2 separate regions of the Homo sapiens genome follow, and region 1 is linked to region 2. Evidence: promoter capture Hi-C in 16 types of primary human blood cells and fetal thymus (Javierre and others, 2016). All regions are on one chromosome and are shown on one strand. Each heading gives the region's core, a stretch centred on a gene start or on the middle of the fragment in contact. The rest is flanking DNA. Distances are from core to core; before and after follow the strand shown.

The links. The method cuts DNA at HindIII sites, captures the fragments that hold promoters and counts their contacts. A CHiCAGO score of 5 or more calls a contact.
Region 1: a contact is called between a fragment that was not itself captured here and the fragment with the promoter of CTSW in region 2, in 1 of 17 cell types (fetal thymus). The highest score is 5.4, in fetal thymus.

The regions. Positions count from the first base shown.
Region 1 is chr11:65,494,046-65,500,209 of GRCh38, forward strand. It overlaps MALAT1 (metastasis associated lung adenocarcinoma transcript 1), which reads left to right and starts at 5,000. Exons shown (of 1, transcript NR_002819.5): 1 at 5,000-6,164. It also overlaps TALAM1. RefSeq lists silencers at 1-107, 3,661-3,720, enhancers at 2,992-4,191, 3,161-3,600, 3,387-3,531, 3,761-4,000, 4,061-4,130 and 4 more and cis regulatory regions at 1-88, 3,452-3,467. The HindIII fragment of the contact is 1,283 bases long and covers 3,988-5,270 here.
Region 2 is chr11:65,876,896-65,883,276 of GRCh38, forward strand. It overlaps CTSW (cathepsin W), which reads left to right and starts at 2,942. Exons shown (of 10, transcript NM_001335.4): 1 at 2,942-3,046; 2 at 3,307-3,391; 3 at 4,512-4,625; 4 at 5,280-5,434; 5 at 5,535-5,631; 6 at 5,714-5,794; 7 at 5,884-6,009; 8 at 6,174-6,238; 9 at 6,320-6,381. The coding sequence starts at 2,960. The HindIII fragment of the contact is 11,122 bases long and covers 2,378-6,381 here.

The DNA of each region.
Region 1 (6,164 bases), core at 3,379-5,878, 380 kb before region 2:
TTCTCTGGAGGTTTCCGGCCTGGCCTGAGTCAGGAGGATTAAGGTAGGGCCTTGCTGACTGTATGCTTGGAGGCTGGATGCAAAATTTTTGCCCTTTTAGTCCTTTTCAGCACCCCGCCTTCTCGAAGGTACAGCCAGGAGGCCTAAGATCTTTCCTTTTTCTTTTTTTTTCAGACAGTCTTGCTCTGTTGCCAGGCTGGAGTGCAGTGGCACCATCTCAGCTCACTGCAACCTCTGCCTCTCGGGTTCAAGCGATTCTCTTGCCTCAGTCTCCCGAGTAGCTGGGACTACAGGTGCCCTCCACCACACCCCAGCTAATTTTTGTATTTTTAGTAGAGATGGGGTTTCACCATGTTGGCCAGGGTGGTCTCGATCTCTTGACCTGGTGATCCGCCTGCCTCAGCCTCCCAAAGTGTTGGGATTACAGGCATGAGCCACCACGCCCGGCTCCAGCCTAAAGTCTTTCATGTCCTCTCCCCAACCCTTTGTTTACTGTATTTTATAGAATCAGCATCATGGCTTCTTGCATGGAATCCTCTCATTTTACATATCTCAGTTGCTACTGGGAAGTTATTTGGGTTGGTGCCTGAGGTCACAGGGCTGTTTGTCAGTGGAGTAATTGCCAGAAACCAGAACCAAGGGCATTCTATTTTTAGCCTGGGCTTTTTTGAGGGGAGCATGAGATGACTGGCTAAAACAAATTTGCCCTCTTATATTTGTGTCCTTAGGCCCAAATGAAGTCTAGGTTTGAGACTAAAGTGAAAGGGAACAAACATGATATTAAAGGACTAGTGGAGGGGGCAGCTTCCATCAGACATTATGAAATTAAAAGGAGCACAGACGCAGTCCAGAGAAAAGGTGCTTGAAAAAATTCAGTGTTATGTTAAAAAGATCCTTAGTTCCAAGAGTGCTGAGAAGGCCACATAATCAAATATATTATTAATCTCCTCACTAAAGTACATGGCAATTTTAGGCTGTCTTTTTTTATTATTTCATTTTTTAGAGTTTTTTTTTTTTTTTTTTTTTTTAAAGACGTTGTCTTGCTCTGTCGCCCAGGCTGGAGTGCAGTGACACGATCTCGGCTCACCACAACCGCTGCCTCCCGGGTTCAAGTGATTCTTGTGCCTTAGCCTCCTGAGTAGCTGGGATTACAGGCGCACGCCACCACACCTGGCTGATTTTTGCATTTTTAGTAGAGACGGGGTGTTACCAAGTTGGACAGGCTGGTCTGGAACTCCTGACCTCATGTGATCCAACCGCCTTGGCCCCTTTATGGGTTTTCACATTTGTGGATTCAAACAACTGTGAATCAAAAATATTTTTAAAGGCCGGGCATGGTGGGTCACACCTGTAATCCCAGCACTTTGGGAGGCCAAGGGAGGCAGATCATCTGAGGTCAGGAGTTCGAGACCAGCCTGACCAACATGGTGAAACCCTGTCTCTACTAAAAATACAAAAAAAATTAGCCGGGCGTGGTGGTGCGTACCTGTAATCCCAGCTACTCGGCAGGCTGAGGGAGGAGAATCGCTTGAACCTGGGAGGTGGAGCTTGCAGTGAGCCGAGATCGCGCCATTGCACTCCAGCCTGGGCTACAAGAGTGAAACTCCATCTCAAAAAAAAAAAAAAAAAAAAGAAAAATTTTTAAAAATTGAATCTGTATTGAACATATACAGACTTCGTTTCTTGTTATTACTCCCTCATTAATACAATATAAAAATTATTTACGTTGTATTAGGTATTATAAGCAAACTAGAGATGATTTAAGGGATATGGGAGGATATCTGTAGGTTACATAAGGAACTTGAGCATCTTCAGATTTTAGCATCCGAGGAGAGGTTTTAGAACCAAGGCCCCATGGATACCAAGGGATGACTGTACAACATTCTGGCGGCTGGGCACAGTGGCTCAAGCCTGTAATCCCAGCACTTTGGGAGGCCGAGGCGGGCGGATCACGAGGTCAGGAGATCCAGACCATCCTGGTTAACACGGTGAAACCCTGTCTCTGCTAAAACTACAAAAAATTAGTCGGGCGTGGTGGCGGGCGCCTGTAGTACCAGCTACTCGGGAGGCTGAGGCAAGTGAATTGCTTGAACCAGGGAGGCGGAGGTTACGGTGAGCCGAGATCCCGCCACTGCACTCCAGCCTCAGCGATAGAGTGAGACTTCGTCTCAAAAAAAAAAAAAAAGAAACATTCTGTAATCTGTCAAGGTAATGGAAATTAATGCAGTGACACTGACAATAATTTAAAGCATTTTAGGGCTCTTAACGTTCATCTCACTCGCTCTAGAGTGAAGGAGAGAGCAGAGAGTACAGAGCAGGTCCTAGGTCCTCCCCCAGATATAGAAAAACCGCAGTTGGAGAGACTGACAGAAGTGCTGGAGAGGAAGGGAGGCAGCAGGACGTGGAAAATCTGGGATTCAAGAACAGCTTCTGCTATTAATTAGCTGTGTGTCATTTCAGGCAAATCACAAAATCTCCAGGCCCCCAAATCCCCATTTGCGAAACGAGGTGACCTGCCTCAGTTTTCCTTCATCCAGCGATAAAATTCTACTAAAAAATTTCCAACCCCAGAGCAAGCATCAGGACTGTGCCTGAAGGGATCCGGCTGCATCTCAGTAATATTCCACTCTTACAGGCTTAAAAATAAAAAAGAAAAGAAAAGAAAACAAGAACAGTTTCACCAGCGTCAATTGAGAACAGCTGCTTCAACAGGCCCTGCTTTATGTGGGCAGGTGGGGACAGGGAGTTGGCCCAGAAAACAGGACCCTCATTTCCTGGAGCCCCCAGGGCAGCTCCCCAACACCGTACACAACCTGCATCATTTACAGGAGCCAAAGGAGTTTTAGAAATCAACTTCATAGAGTTGCTGTATCATTGTGTTAGTTTTGCCATCCTAACCTATACAGCGTCACTAATCTCTCCCCTCGGAGTTGACTGCCTAAAAACAAGCCATGGATACAGGTTCCAAAGACCCGGGGGTGAGGGAGCGGAGAGGGTGGGTGTCACCACCCCGTCCAGCTCCAAGCTTTGTGTGCCCTGGAACTCTCCATTTTAGGTCATTGCTTCAGTTTCTTTTCTAAAAAATTAGGCTGCTGCAAGGTCAGCCTGAGACCACTTCTGCCCCGAGAATTCTAGACTAGTAAGACCTGGTGACATACAAACGACGAAGATATTTTACAATAATGCCATGGCCCTTGATAGCTACACGAGGTTTGTGTTCTGATTTTAAATTAATGGATGACGTCGAGACTATATGGAGGAAATGACAAAGGACAGGAGAGAGGTGGGAAAGGAAGACCTAGACTGAAAATGGAAGTTGGGCAGCAGCTCCACGAAAGAAAGACCAGCCCCCAAGTGCAGTGACAGCGCAGAGTAGCGACCGAGAAGTTCCCAGGCCAGCTGCCACCCCGCCCCCATGCCATTCCCCAGAACAGGCACAGGCGTTAGGGCGGGGCGCGCGTGCGCAGTCACGCGCTGCGCCAACCGCCACAGCTCCGGGAAGGCGGCCAGGACCGGCTAGAGCCGGTTAGAACCAGTGGCGCCCGCCCACGAGCCAGCGCCTCACAAAGGGAGGGCGGCTCACGGCCCTCGCGTATCCCTGCGCGGCGCTCGCGAGCCGCCCCTCCCCCGGCGTTTGTCCCTGACGCAGCCCCACCGGTTGCGCAGTCCCTCCCCGCCCCCGCTCTCCCCTCCGCAGCCTGCAGCCCGAGACTTCTGTAAAGGACTGGGGCCCCGCAACTGGCCTCTCCTGCCCTCTTAAGCGCAGCGCCATTTTAGCAACGCAGAAGCCCGGCGCCGGGAAGCCTCAGCTCGCCTGAAGGCAGGTCCCCTCTGACGCCTCCGGGAGCCCAGGTTTCCCAGAGTCCTTGGGACGCAGCGACGAGTTGTGCTGCTATCTTAGCTGTCCTTATAGGCTGGCCATTCCAGGTGGTGGTATTTAGATAAAACCACTCAAACTCTGCAGTTTGGTCTTGGGGTTTGGAGGAAAGCTTTTATTTTTCTTCCTGCTCCGGTTCAGAAGGTCTGAAGCTCATACCTAACCAGGCATAACACAGAATCTGCAAAACAAAAACCCCTAAAAAAGCAGACCCAGAGCAGTGTAAACACTTCTGGGTGTGTCCCTGACTGGCTGCCCAAGGTCTCTGTGTCTTCGGAGACAAAGCCATTCGCTTAGTTGGTCTACTTTAAAAGGCCACTTGAACTCGCTTTCCATGGCGATTTGCCTTGTGAGCACTTTCAGGAGAGCCTGGAAGCTGAAAAACGGTAGAAAAATTTCCGTGCGGGCCGTGGGGGGCTGGCGGCAACTGGGGGGCCGCAGATCAGAGTGGGCCACTGGCAGCCAACGGCCCCCGGGGCTCAGGCGGGGAGCAGCTCTGTGGTGTGGGATTGAGGCGTTTTCCAAGAGTGGGTTTTCACGTTTCTAAGATTTCCCAAGCAGACAGCCCGTGCTGCTCCGATTTCTCGAACAAAAAAGCAAAACGTGTGGCTGTCTTGGGAGCAAGTCGCAGGACTGCAAGCAGTTGGGGGAGAAAGTCCGCCATTTTGCCACTTCTCAACCGTCCCTGCAAGGCTGGGGCTCAGTTGCGTAATGGAAAGTAAAGCCCTGAACTATCACACTTTAATCTTCCTTCAAAAGGTGGTAAACTATACCTACTGTCCCTCAAGAGAACACAAGAAGTGCTTTAAGAGGTATTTTAAAAGTTCCGGGGGTTTTGTGAGGTGTTTGATGACCCGTTTAAAATATGATTTCCATGTTTCTTTTGTCTAAAGTTTGCAGCTCAAATCTTTCCACACGCTAGTAATTTAAGTATTTCTGCATGTGTAGTTTGCATTCAAGTTCCATAAGCTGTTAAGAAAAATCTAGAAAAGTAAAACTAGAACCTATTTTTAACCGAAGAACTACTTTTTGCCTCCCTCACAAAGGCGGCGGAAGGTGATCGAATTCCGGTGATGCGAGTTGTTCTCCGTCTATAAATACGCCTCGCCCGAGCTGTGCGGTAGGCATTGAGGCAGCCAGCGCAGGGGCTTCTGCTGAGGGGGCAGGCGGAGCTTGAGGAAACCGCAGATAAGTTTTTTTCTCTTTGAAAGATAGAGATTAATACAACTACTTAAAAAATATAGTCAATAGGTTACTAAGATATTGCTTAGCGTTAAGTTTTTAACGTAATTTTAATAGCTTAAGATTTTAAGAGAAAATATGAAGACTTAGAAGAGTAGCATGAGGAAGGAAAAGATAAAAGGTTTCTAAAACATGACGGAGGTTGAGATGAAGCTTCTTCATGGAGTAAAAAATGTATTTAAAAGAAAATTGAGAGAAAGGACTACAGAGCCCCGAATTAATACCAATAGAAGGGCAATGCTTTTAGATTAAAATGAAGGTGACTTAAACAGCTTAAAGTTTAGTTTAAAAGTTGTAGGTGATTAAAATAATTTGAAGGCGATCTTTTAAAAAGAGATTAAACCGAAGGTGATTAAAAGACCTTGAAATCCATGACGCAGGGAGAATTGCGTCATTTAAAGCCTAGTTAACGCATTTACTAAACGCAGACGAAAATGGAAAGATTAATTGGGAGTGGTAGGATGAAACAATTTGGAGAAGATAGAAGTTTGAAGTGGAAAACTGGAAGACAGAAGTACGGGAAGGCGAAGAAAAGAATAGAGAAGATAGGGAAATTAGAAGATAAAAACATACTTTTAGAAGAAAAAAGATAAATTTAAACCTGAAAAGTAGGAAGCAGAAGAAAAAAGACAAGCTAGGAAACAAAAAGCTAAGGGCAAAATGTACAAACTTAGAAGAAAATTGGAAGATAGAAACAAGATAGAAAATGAAAATATTGTCAAGAGTTTCAGATAGAAAATGAAAAACAAGCTAAGACAAGTATTGGAGAAGTATAGAAGATAGAAAAATATAAAGCCAAAAATTGGATAAAATAGCACTGAAAAAATGAGGAAATTATTGGTAACCAATTTATTTTAAAAGCCCATCAATTTAATTTCTGGTGGTGCAGAAGTTAGAAGGTAAAGCTTGAGAAGATGAGGGTGTTTACGTAGACCAGAACCAATTTAGAAGAATACTTGAAGCTAGAAGGGGAAGTTGGTTAAAAATCACATCAAAAAGCTACTAAAAGGACTGGTGTAATTTAAAAAAAACTAAGGCAGAAGGC
Region 2 (6,381 bases), core at 1,692-4,191:
CCTCTCAGGCAGTGAGGCCCCTGTGCCCATGGCCCAGCCCTTACTGGGTACCAGCTGGGATCTGCAGAGTAGGCAGTTGAATGAACAAATGAGTGAGTGGGTGGAGGAAGTTCATTGATTCACTCAACAAATGTTTTCTCGGCCGGGTGCAGTGGCTCACGCCTGTAATCCCAGCACTTTGGGAGGCCAAGGCAGGTGGATTGCTTGAGGTCAGGAGTTTGAGACCAGCCTGACCAACATGGTGAAACCCTGTCTCTACTAAAAATACAAAAAGATTACCCCAGCATGGTGGTGCACACCTGTAGCCCTAGTTACTTGGGAGGCTGAGGCAGGAGAATTGCTGGAACCCGGGAGGCAGAGGTTGCGGTGAGCCGAGATCGTGACACTGCACTCCAGGCTGGGCGACAGAGTGAGACTCTGTCTCAAAAAAACAAAGCAAAACAAAACAAACAATGTTTACTGAGTGGCCACTGTGAAGCAGATGCTGTGGTGCTAGCCAGGGACACAGCACTGACCAAAAACAGACCCAAACCTCCTGGCCTCAGGAGCTCTAGTTCAAGGGAAGGGAGGAGAGGATCAAAGGGAAGGCCACTGGGCCCCACACCTCCAGTTCCTTTTCCCCGTGGCCTCCCACATCCCCTACCATCACAAGAGGCCCACACTGGGACCTCCACCTCTGAGGGCTGACATGGAGCCTTAACTATCAGTCACACACAGGACAAGACTGGCTGGGGCCCATAACTGGGCTCTAGAACCACAGGGCCAGGCACCACTCTGGGGATGGTCTGTCCACTGCATTTCAATAAAGGCAGCAGCATGCTTTTCAGATAGAGAAGCCCCTTGGTTTACTCTCTGGGCAGGGTGACAAAGTGTGGCCTCACGACTCTGGGAGGAATCCTAATAAAGAAACATGGTAGGCCGGGCGTGGTGGCTCACGCCTGTAATCCCAGCACTTTGGGAGGCCGAGGCGAGCGGATCACGAGGTCAAGAGATCAAGACCATCCTGGCTAACATGGTGAAACCCTGTCTCTACTAAAAAATACAAAAAATTAGCCGGGCGTGGTGGCGGGTGCCTGTAGTCCCAGCTACTCGGGAGGCCGAGGCAGGAGAATGGCGTGAACCCAGGAGGTGGAGGTTCCAGTGAGCCGAGATCGCACCACTGCACTCCAGCCTGGGCGACAGAGCGAGACTCCGTCTCAAAAAAACAAACAAAAAAAAGAAACGCAGTAGTGAGCATGTAAGTGAATAAATCCCAGGATTATAGCTGTCCTGTCTCCCACCCCATGGAACCCTAGAAAGCCAGCTCTTCACACCCTTCTCTGGTCTTGGTCACCAGTTCTCAGCCTGAACTCCTATAGGGGAGGTCCCCAGCCCAAGGACCCACTTAGAACAAAGGCAGCAGTAACGGGTGTTAATGCTGCTGCCCAGCCCTTGACCTCACAAGTCAGGCTTTGGCCTCCCTCCGTCTGTGATGCTCACCCTGTTATCCTTCTGGCTCTTCAGCCCCCTCATCCTCATCCCTAGACCGTGGGAGGGATGAGGAACGGGAGGCACTGGCTGCAGTTGCTGCTCCCGGACTCTGACTCTGCGCTTTCCTGTTTTGTTTTGTTTTTTGAGATGGAGTTTCACTTTTGTTGCCCAGGCTGGAGTGTAATGGTGCGATCTCGGCTCACTGCAACCTCCACCTCTCAGGTTCAAGTGATTCTTGTGCCTCAGCCTCCCGAGTAACTGGGATTATAGGCGCCCGCCACCATGCCCAGCTGCTTTTTTGTATTTTTAGTAGAGACAGGGTTTCACCATGTTGGCCAGGCTGGTCTCCAACTCCTGACCTCAGGTGATCCACCCGCCTCGGCCTCCCAAAGTGCTGGGATTACAAGCGTGAGCCACCGTGCCTGGCCTGGTTTTGTTTTTTTGACACAGGATCTTGGACCCACGCTGGAGTGCAGAGGCATGATCATAGCTCACTGCAGCCTTAATCTTCCAGGCTCAAGCAATCCCACTGGCCTCAGCCTCCCCAGTAGCTGGGACTACAGGAGAGCACCACCATGCTTGGCTAACTTTTTTTTTTTTAAGTAGAGATGAAGCCTTGCTCAGTTGTCCAAGTTTGTCTCCAACTCCTGAGCTCAAATGATTCTCCTACCTTGGCCTCCCAAAGTGATGAGATTACAGGCATGAGCCATTATGCCCGGCCTGCTTTCCTGTTTAAAACTCATGATGATCAATTGTTCAGTCAACAAACACCTAGCGAGCCTGACTCATGCCTAGCCCTATCCTGGGAACCGAGGACACCGAGGACACAAGCGAACTGAACACTTCTGGTGTGGTTGGAGGCAGATGCCCAATGGGCACAGGTGCAGCTGGGCTGAAGGGGCTGCAAAGCTTCTACCAGAGGTTGGGGAAGCAGGGAAGGCTTCTTGAAAGAGGCGGCCATTGAGCTGACTGAGCTTCATAGGATGAGCAAGAGTGGTTCCCTTGGCTGGGCGCAGTGGCTCATGCCTGTTATCCCAGCACTTTGGGAGGCTGAGGCAGGTGGATCACCTGAGGTCAGGAGTTGGAGACCAGCCTGACCAACATGGTGAAATGCTGTCTCTACTGAAAATACAAAAAATTCGCTGGGCATGGTGGTGCATGCCTGTAGTCCCAGCTAGTCGGGAGGCTGAGGCAGGAGAATTGCTTGAACCCGGGAGGTGGAGGTTGCAGTGAGCCGAGATCATGCCACTGCACTCCAACCTGGGTGGAAAAAAAAAAGAAAGAAAGAAAGAAAGAAAAAGGGGTGGGATGGGGAGCAGACAGGCAGGGACTGAAAGCCTGAAGGCCTGAGCAACTTGTGGGTTCTAGGGGTCCACCCTCCACCCACCAAGCCTGTCTTCCCCTTCGTGGTTTCTCCAGCCCCACCCTCACACCGTCCTCCTCGATCTGCGCGGCTTCCTGCCTCCATGCCACTCCAGACTGCACCGGCATGGCACTGACTGCCCACCCCTCCTGCCTCCTGGCCCTGTTGGTGGCAGGCCTAGCCCAAGGCATCAGAGGCCCCCTTAGGGCCCAGGTAAGTGCTCCCAAACCCTTACCTATGCCAGTCCCACGCCTGGGGTCACCCCTTCAGAAACAGCTGGCCTGTCATTCTCATTTTTCAGAGGGAGTTGCTGAGGCTGGAGAGGGGGCTGACGTGCCCAAGGGCACATGGGAAGACAGAAAAGGCTAACTGGCTGACCCCTAGCCCAGTCCTTGCACGGCTGGGAACTAAGGTGGGGCCCCAGCAATGATTCCTCTGCCCACTGCCCCTCTCCACCCTTGGTTCCTTGCCAGGACCTAGGTCCCCAGCCGCTAGAGCTGAAAGAGGCCTTCAAGTTGTTCCAGATCCAGTTCAACCGGAGTTACCTGAGCCCAGAAGGTATCACAGGGCACATACATCTCCAGTCCAAGCCCCCACTTTTTTTTTTTTTGAGACGGAGTTTCACTCTTGTTGACCAGGCTGGAGTGCAATGGTGTCATCTTGGCTCACTGCAACCTCCACCTCCCGGGTTCAAGCGATTCTCCTGCTTCAGCCTCTGAGTAGCTGGGATTACAGGCATGCGCCACCACACTTGGCTAACCTTTACATTTTTAGTAGAGATGGGGTTTGACCATGTTGGCCAGGCTGGTCTTGAACTCCTGACATCAGGTGATCCGCCTGCCTCGGCCTCCCAAAGGGCTGGGATTACAGGTGTAAGCCACGGAGCCCAGCCATCCCGCTTTGTAATAGATGAAGAAATCGAAGCTCAGGGTGGGGAACAGGCATGGCCAAGGCCACTCAGCAGGACAGGCCAGGGCTGGGGGTGTGTTCCCTGGTTTCCCGAAGGCATGAGTGGGTCCAGGATCATTCTTTGCTATGGATCTGGAGGGCAGTGGCAGGAGGTGGGGTCCTGCCCTAGTCCTACGTGATCCCCTGGCTCCACAGCCACTTCCCTGCGATTCTAGGCAGTGGACAGGGGGCCACCACCTAGTCATTTGCTCATTCAGCAAACACCCAAGGACACCCATTTTGTCCCCACATTGGGGACTTCTTCTCTAGCCCATGATCTAACCCCTGCCCCTGCCCTCTCGCTGTGCTGATCTCTCTAGGGGGCTGATCTGTGTGTGCCTTTTAGCCCAGACTGCCTGTGCCTTGTCATCTCCTCTCCCTGCCATGTTCCAGCTCTCCTCCTGTGGTCAGAGGTGTAAAGGACGTGGCCTGGCAGGAAGCTGGTCTCCAGCCACACATCCTTGAGTCACCACCACCGGACCCCTTGCCTGGCTTCCCACCTAGGGTGGCCAGAGATGGTCCTCTGGCTGCCTCTGGGGAAAACCCAACCCTCGGTGGGCTGGGTAACCACTTCCTGGGCCTGGGTATCTGCAGTGGGGCCTTGTGGGGGCTACAGGAAAGGAGCCAGTGCTCAACTGGGTGGGTGTGGGTGGAAGGGTGCCCAGCCAGCGGCTACTTCCTGCCCCTAAGGGCTTGGGAGTCAGCCTAGGACAACTCCCTTTTGGTCCAGAGCATGCTCACCGCCTGGACATCTTTGCCCACAACCTGGCCCAGGCTCAGAGGCTGCAGGAGGAGGACTTGGGCACAGCTGAGTTTGGGGTGACTCCATTCAGTGACCTCACAGGTACCATTAACCCTTCTGGCTCGTAGGTGGTGGTTGGGAAGCGATCTCCCCAGGGACACTGGCAGCTGGACCCAGCGGACCTTCAATTTTTACTTCCCAGGGAAGGAAATTCATTTCCCTGAGGACCAGGGGCTTGGGTGCTGGTATCAAATCACCCAGTGCAGGGGCAGAATCTCTGCAGTCCTGTGTCCTAATCCAGCCTAGGGGCCAGCGCAGCAGCTGCAGGGAAGCACCCAGCAGGGAGCCCAGCCTCTCTAGGCTTGGCACCCTTGCCTTTTTGAGACAGGGTCTTGCTCTGTTGTCCAGGCTGCAGTACAATAGTGCAATCACAGCTCACTCAGCCTCCACCTCCTAGACTCAAGCAATTCCCCCGACCCCTCAGCCTTCTAAGTAGCTGGGGCTACAAGCCCGCACAACCACGCCCAGCTAATTTTTCTACTTTTTGTGGAGATGGGGTCTCGGACTCCTGACCTCAAGTGATCCACCCACCTTGGCCTCCCAAAGTGCTGGGATTATAGGTGTGAGCCACCACGCCCGGCCTATCCTTGCCTTTTTGCCCCTCAGGGAATTATGGGACCAACAGCTGGAGTGGGAGAGGCAGAACAGGGAGAAGGGGTCAAAATGGAGACCTCAGTGGCCCTGTCTGTTCCCCAGAGGAGGAGTTTGGCCAGCTCTATGGCTATCGGAGGGCAGCTGGAGGGGTCCCCAGCATGGGCAGAGAAATAAGGTCTGAAGAGCCAGAGGAGTCAGTACCTTTCAGCTGTGACTGGCGGAAGGTGGCCAGCGCCATCTCACCCATCAAGGACCAGGTATCTGCCGCTACCCAGCTGGCTCTAATTCAGCTAAGTGGTGGGAGGGAGAGGGGCACGGCCCGAACACCTAGCCCCGCCCCACCCTCTCGCCCTCCAGAAAAACTGCAACTGCTGCTGGGCCATGGCAGCGGCAGGCAACATAGAGACCCTGTGGCGCATCAGTTTCTGGGATTTTGTGGATGTCTCCGTGCAGGGTAGGGTTGGGAGAGGGTGCGCGTGTGACAGGGGAGGGAGGCCTAGGGGCCTGGTCACCCACACTGTCCCTTCTTGCACCAGAACTGCTGGACTGTGGCCGCTGTGGGGATGGCTGCCACGGTGGCTTCGTCTGGGACGCGTTCATAACTGTCCTCAACAACAGTGAGTGCACTGCCCCGCCACTCTGGACATCTGCAGGGGGACAGGGTGGGCAGGAGCGGAACCTCCTCCCTTGTCTTGCTTATCTGCAGGCGGCCTGGCCAGTGAAAAGGACTACCCGTTCCAGGGCAAAGTCAGAGCCCACAGGTGCCACCCCAAGAAGTACCAGAAGGTGGCCTGGATCCAGGACTTCATCATGCTGCAGAACAACGAGCACAGTGCGGGCAGGGCAGGGACACGGGCGGATGGCAGGGACAGACACCGGGGCAGAGGCAGACACGCTGGGCTACTGGGCTAGAAGACAAGAGGGGGTGGGGGGAGCGAAGGAGCGAGAGACCCACACACCCACATGCCAAGGGTCTGATGATGTTCCTGTCCCCAGGAATTGCGCAGTACCTGGCCACTTATGGCCCCATCACCGTGACCATCAACATGAAGCCCCTTCAGGTGAGATGGGGGAGCTGATGGGGAAGGGGCATACAGGAGACTTGGCCCCACACTCAGCCCCTCGGCCCCCACCCCCTGCAGCTATACCGGAAAGGTGTGATCAAGGCCACACCCACCACCTGTGACCCCCAGCTTGTGGACCA